2 separate regions of the Homo sapiens genome follow, and region 1 is linked to region 2. The links are contacts of gene promoters, found by promoter capture Hi-C in blood cells and fetal thymus (Javierre and others, 2016). All regions are on one chromosome and are shown on one strand. Each heading gives the region's core, a stretch centred on a gene start or on the middle of the fragment in contact. The rest is flanking DNA. Distances are from core to core; before and after follow the strand shown. Region 1 holds the start of DCTN3 (dynactin subunit 3). Region 2 holds the start of UBAP1 (ubiquitin associated protein 1).

What was found. Contacts are between HindIII fragments. The CHiCAGO score rates a contact against its expected background, and 5 or more counts as called.
Region 1: a contact is called between the fragment with the promoter of DCTN3 here and the fragment with the promoter of UBAP1 in region 2, in 1 of 17 cell types (monocytes). The highest score is 6.2, in monocytes.

Annotation. Positions count from the first base shown.
Region 1 is chr9:34,619,168-34,622,980 of GRCh38, reverse strand. It overlaps DCTN3 (dynactin subunit 3), which reads left to right and starts at 2,486. Exons shown (of 7, transcript NM_007234.5): 1 at 2,486-2,612. The coding sequence starts at 2,517. It overlaps ARID3C (AT-rich interaction domain 3C), which reads left to right. Exons shown (of 8, transcript NM_001017363.4): 6 at 452-634; 7 at 872-961; 8 at 1,423-1,932. The coding sequence ends at 1,523. The HindIII fragment of the contact is 4,259 bases long and covers 289-3,813 here.
Region 2 is chr9:34,177,495-34,181,110 of GRCh38, reverse strand. It overlaps UBAP1 (ubiquitin associated protein 1), which reads right to left and starts at 2,068. Exons shown (of 7, transcript NM_016525.5): 1 at 1,871-2,068. RefSeq lists enhancers at 146-1,103, 1,104-2,060, 1,826-2,255, 2,061-3,019. The HindIII fragment of the contact is 10,457 bases long and covers 1-3,616 here.

The sequences.
Region 1 (3,813 bases), core at 1,237-3,736, 440 kb before region 2:
AGAGACGGGGTTTCACCGTGTTAGCCAGGATGGTCTCGATCTCCTGACCACGTGATCCGCCCTCCTCCGCTTCCCAAAGTGTTGGGATTACAGGCTGAGTCACCGCGCCCGGCCAGGAAAAGGTCCTTTAATCACAGCAACTCCATTCCACACATGTCCACCCAGTGCTCCTATTTGCATATAGTTTGTGCCTCTTGTGACCTGGATTATTTAATAACCAACAGCCAAAAACAATCCCCCAAATTGTCTAGACATGTACCTTGATCCTTTGGGCTCTAGAGAAAAGCTTCAGCGCTTCCAGGCTGAGGCTCTGGATGGGAAGATAGATCGAATGAAGGATGAGAGATTGGTACATGAGCTTGAGTTACCTCTTTTGGTCCCAGGCCTGGGGGAGAACCAATGCAGAGATGGGTTGGTTTGGCCAGGGGAGCTGAATAACCTGTTCTTCTAGAGGAGAGTGGAATTCCAAACCCTTGTCTGGCACTGCCTGTGGGCCTGGCACTGGGACCTACACGGGAGAAATTGGCACCAGAGGAGCCCCCAGAGAAGAGAGCTGTGCTGATGGGGCCTATGGACCCACCTCGACCTTGCATGCCCCCCAGTTTCCTGCCCCGTGGCAAGGTTCCCCTGAGGGGTGAGGAGGGGCTTGTTGTGAGGGGGCTTCGGGACTGTACACTGAGGGAGGATTGACCCATCACCTGATAGGTGTTAGAGACGGGGCAGACAGATTCCTCTGTAGACAACTGTGTGAGTATAGGTGTGGGGCTGAAGTGGAATGGGGGCTGTCTACGGGGATGGAGGGGGGAAATTCTATTAATAAGTCAGAAGTCTGATTCTCCAAAATGTGATTCCTCTGCCCCCTCCTGGACAGAAGAGCGGCTGGATGGGCCTCTTAATCTGGCAGGCAGTGGCATCAGCAGTATCAACATGGCCCTAGAGATCAACGGGGTGGTCTACACTGGTATGGGTACTGCAGGCTGTCTACACTGGCATGGGGTCAGGGGTATTTAGGCTGGCATGGGGATTTTAGACTTCCTCTACTAGCATGAAGTTCAGGGATATCTAAACTTGCATGAGTAACATGGAGTTCAGGGGATTGCTAGACTGGCATGGGTTAAAGGGGGTGTCTACATGGCATGGGATCCAAGGCATGACCTCTCTGGCATGAGTACCAGGGGATGTCTGCCTTGTCTTGGGCCTATGTATCAGCATAAATATTCCTTGTTTACCTGTTTGAGGTATCTACATTAGCAATGGAGTCTCTTACTGACCCAAGGAGCTTGTCCTCATTGGTTTGTGGCAGGGGTACGTGTGTAGTGTTCTAGCAACCAGAACACTTACTTTTGTTCCCCTCTTCTGTTTCCATACCCTACCCCCTCCTGCTTGTTTTTGCCCTCTACCATCTCCTCACCCCTTTGCCAGGTGTCCTCTTTGCCCGCCGCCAGCCTGTGCCAGCTTCCCAGGGTCCAACCAACCCTGCACCCCCACCCTCCACAGGGCCCCCTTCCAGCATCTTGCCCTGAGAGGTCCTACTTGAAACTAAGAGTCCCAGCCCCATTGCTGAGGGGGGAGGAGACCCCCTGCTTTGATTCTTTCTGGCTGCCCACTCTGGGACCCAGCCCTGGGAGGGGACGACACCTCCCATGCCATGTGGACTTAAAACCAAAGTTTCTTTTGATGTTACACCTACCTCATTGTAAAGGGAGGGCACCTCCTCCCTGGCCAATTCCAGCAGCACCTACCAAAGGGTTCTTCCTCCAGTAACCCCATCATCTCCTCATGTGTTCCCTCTGTCAATGTCATCTCTAGGACCCTACCCTTTTGAGTCAGCCCTGCTTCTCTTCAGGAGCCAAGTGAAAGGTTGGGTTGGGGTACTGTGAAAGAGACATCCCTCAGGTCACATCTAGACAATAAAGCTGCGGTCCCTCCCTCTCTGATGCCTCCTTTCTTGTTTGGGTATGGGAGGTGGGGAGGAATGATGTGGAACATAGGCTGCCTTGGGCCAGGGGCTTTCAGAGGTTAAGGCAGAATAGCAAAGTTTCGTGAGAATAGAAGAGCTCCGTCTCTTGAATCAGACAGCCTGAGTTCAAGTCCTGTTTCTGTCCCTATAGTGCTGGGTGGCCTTGGGCAAGTTACTTAATCAACTGAACCTTAGAAGACTCCAAAAGTTTATGGTAACTCACGGAGCCTCCTAATGATGTATCTATGGGAATGGACCTATCCTGGAACACGTGCAAACTCAGGGAATGGCGTGGGGAAAGCTCTTTGGTACCCGAAAAGCAAAGGTTATCTTGACAACCAGGCACTGGAAGCCAGGGGAGGGATGGGACAGAGCCGTTGCCAAGGTAATCAGCTTTTGACAGCTCCGAGGAGTAACTTCCGGCACTGAAGGGCTGAATCATGGCGTCACTTCCTGCATAAAGGGCCGCTCGTGCACTCGGATTGGCTAGCCTTCTTATTTGGACTGACGTCCCGCCCTCTGGCTGTTTCCTGGCCGAGGTGGGTCGGTAGTAGCGATGGCGGGTCTGACTGACTTGCAGCGGCTACAGGCCCGAGTGGAAGAGCTGGAGCGCTGGGTGTACGGGCCGGGCGGGGCGCGCGGCTCACGGAAGGTGAGTAGTCTGGTCCGGTAGTCCCTTTCTGGAGCAGAGCAAGAGCGGTCCACTGTCCTGGCCCTCGGGATGCAACCGCTCCAGTCCTGTTCTCCGCAGCCCGGCCTTTGAAATAACAAAGGTCCGGGACCTCCCAGAGCTGATTGGACCATCGGGGTCCACTGTCATAGGGGGCTCTGCGGGTGGTTAAGCCAGCCTGAGAGTGGGCTCCGTACCTACTGTAGCTGAGACTCCGCCCTTGCCCTCGCGAGCTATAGTTGGGGAGACCTGACACGAGAAGCTGACTAATGAGAGTTTCAATAAGAGCTGAAGTCCACGATAGGAAGGCCCGTCATAGAGCCCTGCATAATTAATTGCTAAATGAATTGTGCAGGAAGAGGTCCATGGGACCCCTGGGGAGGCAGAGCAGAGGTGGATAAGGAAAACGCCAAAGGGTGAGAAGTGAGGTCTGAAAGGACCAGGATTAGGAAGGGAAGAGACTGGGTACTGGGTATTCAGATGTGGACTAGCACTGCTTTATACCAGTGACAGAATTTTGACAACTACGAAGCTCAGGTGCCCTCTCCTCCCCTTTCTACTATGGGAAGATCTTTTATTGAAGAACTTCTGATGGCGTGTCAGGCATGTCCTGGAGCTAAGTGCGTCCAAGGTAATGATGTCTGTTTGTACACTAAATGAGGAATTAGTTGTCACTAGCAGACTGTGCTCCCATTTCAGAACTAACTTCTCAAACATTCTCTTCCTTTGGGATCTATGACGCTGACCCTCCTGGTTTTCCTTCTACCTCTTACGGCTGCTTCTCAGTGTTATTTGCCTCCCCCCTGGCATTCCTCATCCTCTACCCTAAAAACTGGGTGAGTGCAGTCACTTCCTTAGTCTCCTCCTCTATTTGACCCTTTAATATTGGGATTCTTTACATTCTACCCCTAAACTTTAGGTAGGCTCACTCGCTTCCATGGTGTCAATTACTATTTACATGTCAATATGTCTCAAATGTATATCTCTGGTCCAGATTTCTGTTCTGAGAACCAGACTTTTATGTCTAGTTGTCTACTGGACTTTTCCACTTGGATATCCAATAGTCATTTCAAACTCAATCTGTATGCCCTTAACTGTACTCTTTCTCTCCCCTAACCTGATTCTCTTCTGTATTCCCTAATTCAGTGATTGCACCATCATTGGGATCCCAGTTGTTTGGACT
Region 2 (3,616 bases), core at 819-3,318:
AGGCCGGGTGCGGTGGCTCACGCCTGTAATCCCAGCACTTTCGGAGACCAAGGCCGGAGGATTATTTGAGGTCAGAAGTTCGAGACCAGCCTGACCAACATGGTGAAACCCCGTCTCTACTAAAATACAAAAATTAGCCAGCCGTAGTGGTGGGTGTCTATAATCTCAGCTACTCGGGAGGCTGAGGCAGGACAGTCACTTGAACCCAGGAGGCGGAGGTTGCAGCAAGCCAAGATCGCGCCACTGCACTCCAGCCTGGGCAACAGACCGAGACTCCCTCTGGAAAAAAATAAAAAGAAACAAAAAAAAAAAAAAGTTTTTTTTCCAATGAGGTTCTAGCAGGTTAGTAAAGTTATCTGCTGTGCAATGACAGCGATGGTCACTCACTAAAGAAACATTAAGTTTAGCATTTCTGTAATTATAATGACTCTTATTATTGCAACACACAGTAGCTATTTAATAAACACCATGAATTAATAGAACTAGAAACAAAAATTTAATAAAATTTCACTTATAGTAAGTTAATGCGGACAATGTAATTCTTTTAAGACTTGACACATTTCACATTCTTTGCCATAATACGTAAACTTTTTTTTTTTTTTTGAGTCGGAGTCTCGCTCTGTTGCCCAGGCTGGAGTGCAATGCAGCGATCTAGGCTCACTGCTACCTCCGCCTCCCAGGTTCAAGCCATTCTCCTGCCTCGGCCACCCGAGTAGCTGGGATTACAGGCGCCTGCCACCACGCCCGGCTGGCTTTTTAGTAGAGAAAGGGTTTCAACATGTTGGTCAGGCTGGTCTTGAACTCTTGACCTCGTGATCCGCCCGCCTCGGCCTCCCAAAGTGCTGGGATTTCAGACGTGAGCCACAGCGCCCGGCCAATACGGAAACTTTTAGTTTAGGTTGGGACATTAACTAGAAAGAACTATATATCACTAAAGACTAAGTATCTTGTTTTTCCCACCATCAAATCTGACAAAATTAAAAAGGAAAACATCCATCATATCTATTCAAATTCTCAAATGCTAATAACTGAAGAGACAAAGCACTAACGAGTAAAGTTAGAACAGAATATACGTAATACTTAACTAAATTACCAAATCTGGTTTCGCAACACTGCATGGTGACTAAAAGTAACAATTTTTTTTTCAGTTTAACATAAAACGTATTTTTATGCCCAACCATACTTTTAAGACGCTAGTCTGGAAACAATTACATTTGGCAACAAAGGTCAAAGATCACTGATATAGCTCAAATAAATGAACCTGACGTTCCACAAGAAAGACTGGGGCGGTTCCTGAGGCCCAGGTGGACTGTATAGGTAAGCCTCCACCCAAGAAACAAAAAAGGCGGATAAACATACCTGGAGAAGACCAGACAAGGCCAAAGATATCCCCAAAGATCACTCACCTCTGGTCTAGTCTCCACCTTTTCTCCCCAATCTCATTGCCTCAGGGAGAACTAAATCTACACCGCACGTCCCCAGCTCACCCTCAACTCCCCACCACTCACCTTCTTTACTAAAATCTGGGTCCCCCTCCCTGACATCCTCTAGTTCCCACCGAGTTCTCAGTCCAGCCCGATAGATGTCTACTATGCCTGTCTTCCAGTAGGGTATTAGTCTCCTTAATCCGAACTCATTTTTCCGCATCCCACTTCCCCTCCGCCCCTTCAACTCCGGTCCCCTCACTCCGACCCTTCTCCCAGAATCCTCCCCGAATCGCGGATCTCCGGCCACTTTTCCCTCCCACCTCCTAGCTCCGGCGCCCTTCACCTCGCTCGGCCCCCCATCCCGTTTCCCAGTCTCCCAGTACCAGCCCCCCTCCCCCAACTCCGCCCCTCTTCCCCCTCCCCCAGAGGGAGGCCCCCCTCACCTGAATGCCGCTGCTGCCGCCGTCTCAGAAGCCGAAAGGTGCTGGCACCGGCCGGCCTCCCAGGCTCGGTCCCCGCTGAGCTCCCGACAGCCCCTAGGGAGAGCGAACGCCACCACCTCCAACTCTGCCCGCTCCGGGCCAGGCCGTCACCGTAGCCACCGCCAGTGCCGCAGCCGCCATGTTGAAGTCCTACTTCCCTCCTCCTTCCCCTCACCGCCCCACTCATTTGGGCGTCTGACGTCATGGCGCCGCGCTCCACACGCCCGGACCAATGGGAGGAGCCGACGGTGACATAACTAATCTCTCTTCTAGCGAGGAGCTACTCCGGCAACATGGAGCATTGCAATTGGAATGAGTAAACCCTGCTGACCTAAGGGGGAAGGAGGAAAGGAGGGGGTCACTAAGAGTGTAAGACTTGGGTTTGGCGAGGCGGCCAAAGCGGGAAACCCAAGAGCCTTGAATCGCGAAGGTATGCCCAAAGAGTTAGCAGCGAGTCCTATTTGGGAATTAAGACATCTAGCTTCTGTTCAGGGTCAGCGACCTGGTACAACTCATACCCTTTCTGGACCTCACTTTTCCCATGTATAGAGGACTAAGTTGAAAGGTGACTTCTAGGCCGGGCGCAGTGGCTCACGCCTGTAACTCCAGCACTTTGAGAGGCCGAGGCAGGAGGGTCGCTTGAGCCCGGGAGGTCGAGGCTGCGGTAGCCGTGATCGCGCCACTGCACTCCAGGTGGGCAACGGAACGCGACTCTGTATCAAAAGAAAAAAAAACAAAGGTGACCTCTAAGTCTTCCTTCAATTCTGACATTCTATGGGTTTAAACCAGGTAATCCTATCCCAAGCCTTCACTGCCTTCTGTGGGGGTTTTTGTTGTTGTTGTTGTTTCTGTTTGGGGTGTTTTTTGTTTTTTTGAGACAGGGTCTCGCTCTGTCGCCTAGGCTGGAGTGCAGTGGCGCGATGTTGGCGCACTGCAACCCTGCAACCTCCACCTGTCGGGCTCAAGTGATCCTCCCACCTCAGCCTTCTGAGTAGCTTGGACTATAGCCACATGCCAACACGCCCGGATAATTTTTATTATTTTATATATATATATGGAGAGACGGGGTCTCACCATGTTGCCCAGGCTGGTGGTAAACTTCTGGGCTCAAGCCTCAGTCTCCCAAATTGCTGGGATTGTAGGCGTGAGCCATGGCGCTGGCCTTCTGTGTCTTTCTATGTCTGCTGGAATTAGGAGACAGAGAATTATTAATTGAATAAGATGACTCTTGAGCCCAGGAGTTCAAGACCAATTTAAGCAACATGAGACCCCCGTCTCTACAAAAAGTTTGGTAAAAATTAGGTGAGCCTGGGCAACATAGTGAGACCTTGTCTCTACAAAAACTCAAATTATCTGGGCGTGGTGGCATGTGCCTGTGGTCCTAACTATTCAGGAGGCTGAGATAGGAGGATCACTTGAGCCTGAGAGGTCGAGGCTACAGTGAGCCAGGATTGTGCTGGTGTACTCCAAACATGGGTGACAGAGCAAGATCTTGTCGCAATAAAATAAAATAAAATAAAATGACTAGGCACGATGGCTAACGCCTGTAATCCCAGCACTTTGGGAGGCCAAGATGGTCAGATCTCTTGAGCTCAGGAGTTTGAGACCAGCCTGGGCAACGTGGAGAATCTTCATCTCTAACAACAACAAAAAACAGTTGGGCATGGTGGTACACGACTGTAGTCCCAGCTATTGGGTTCTGCAAAT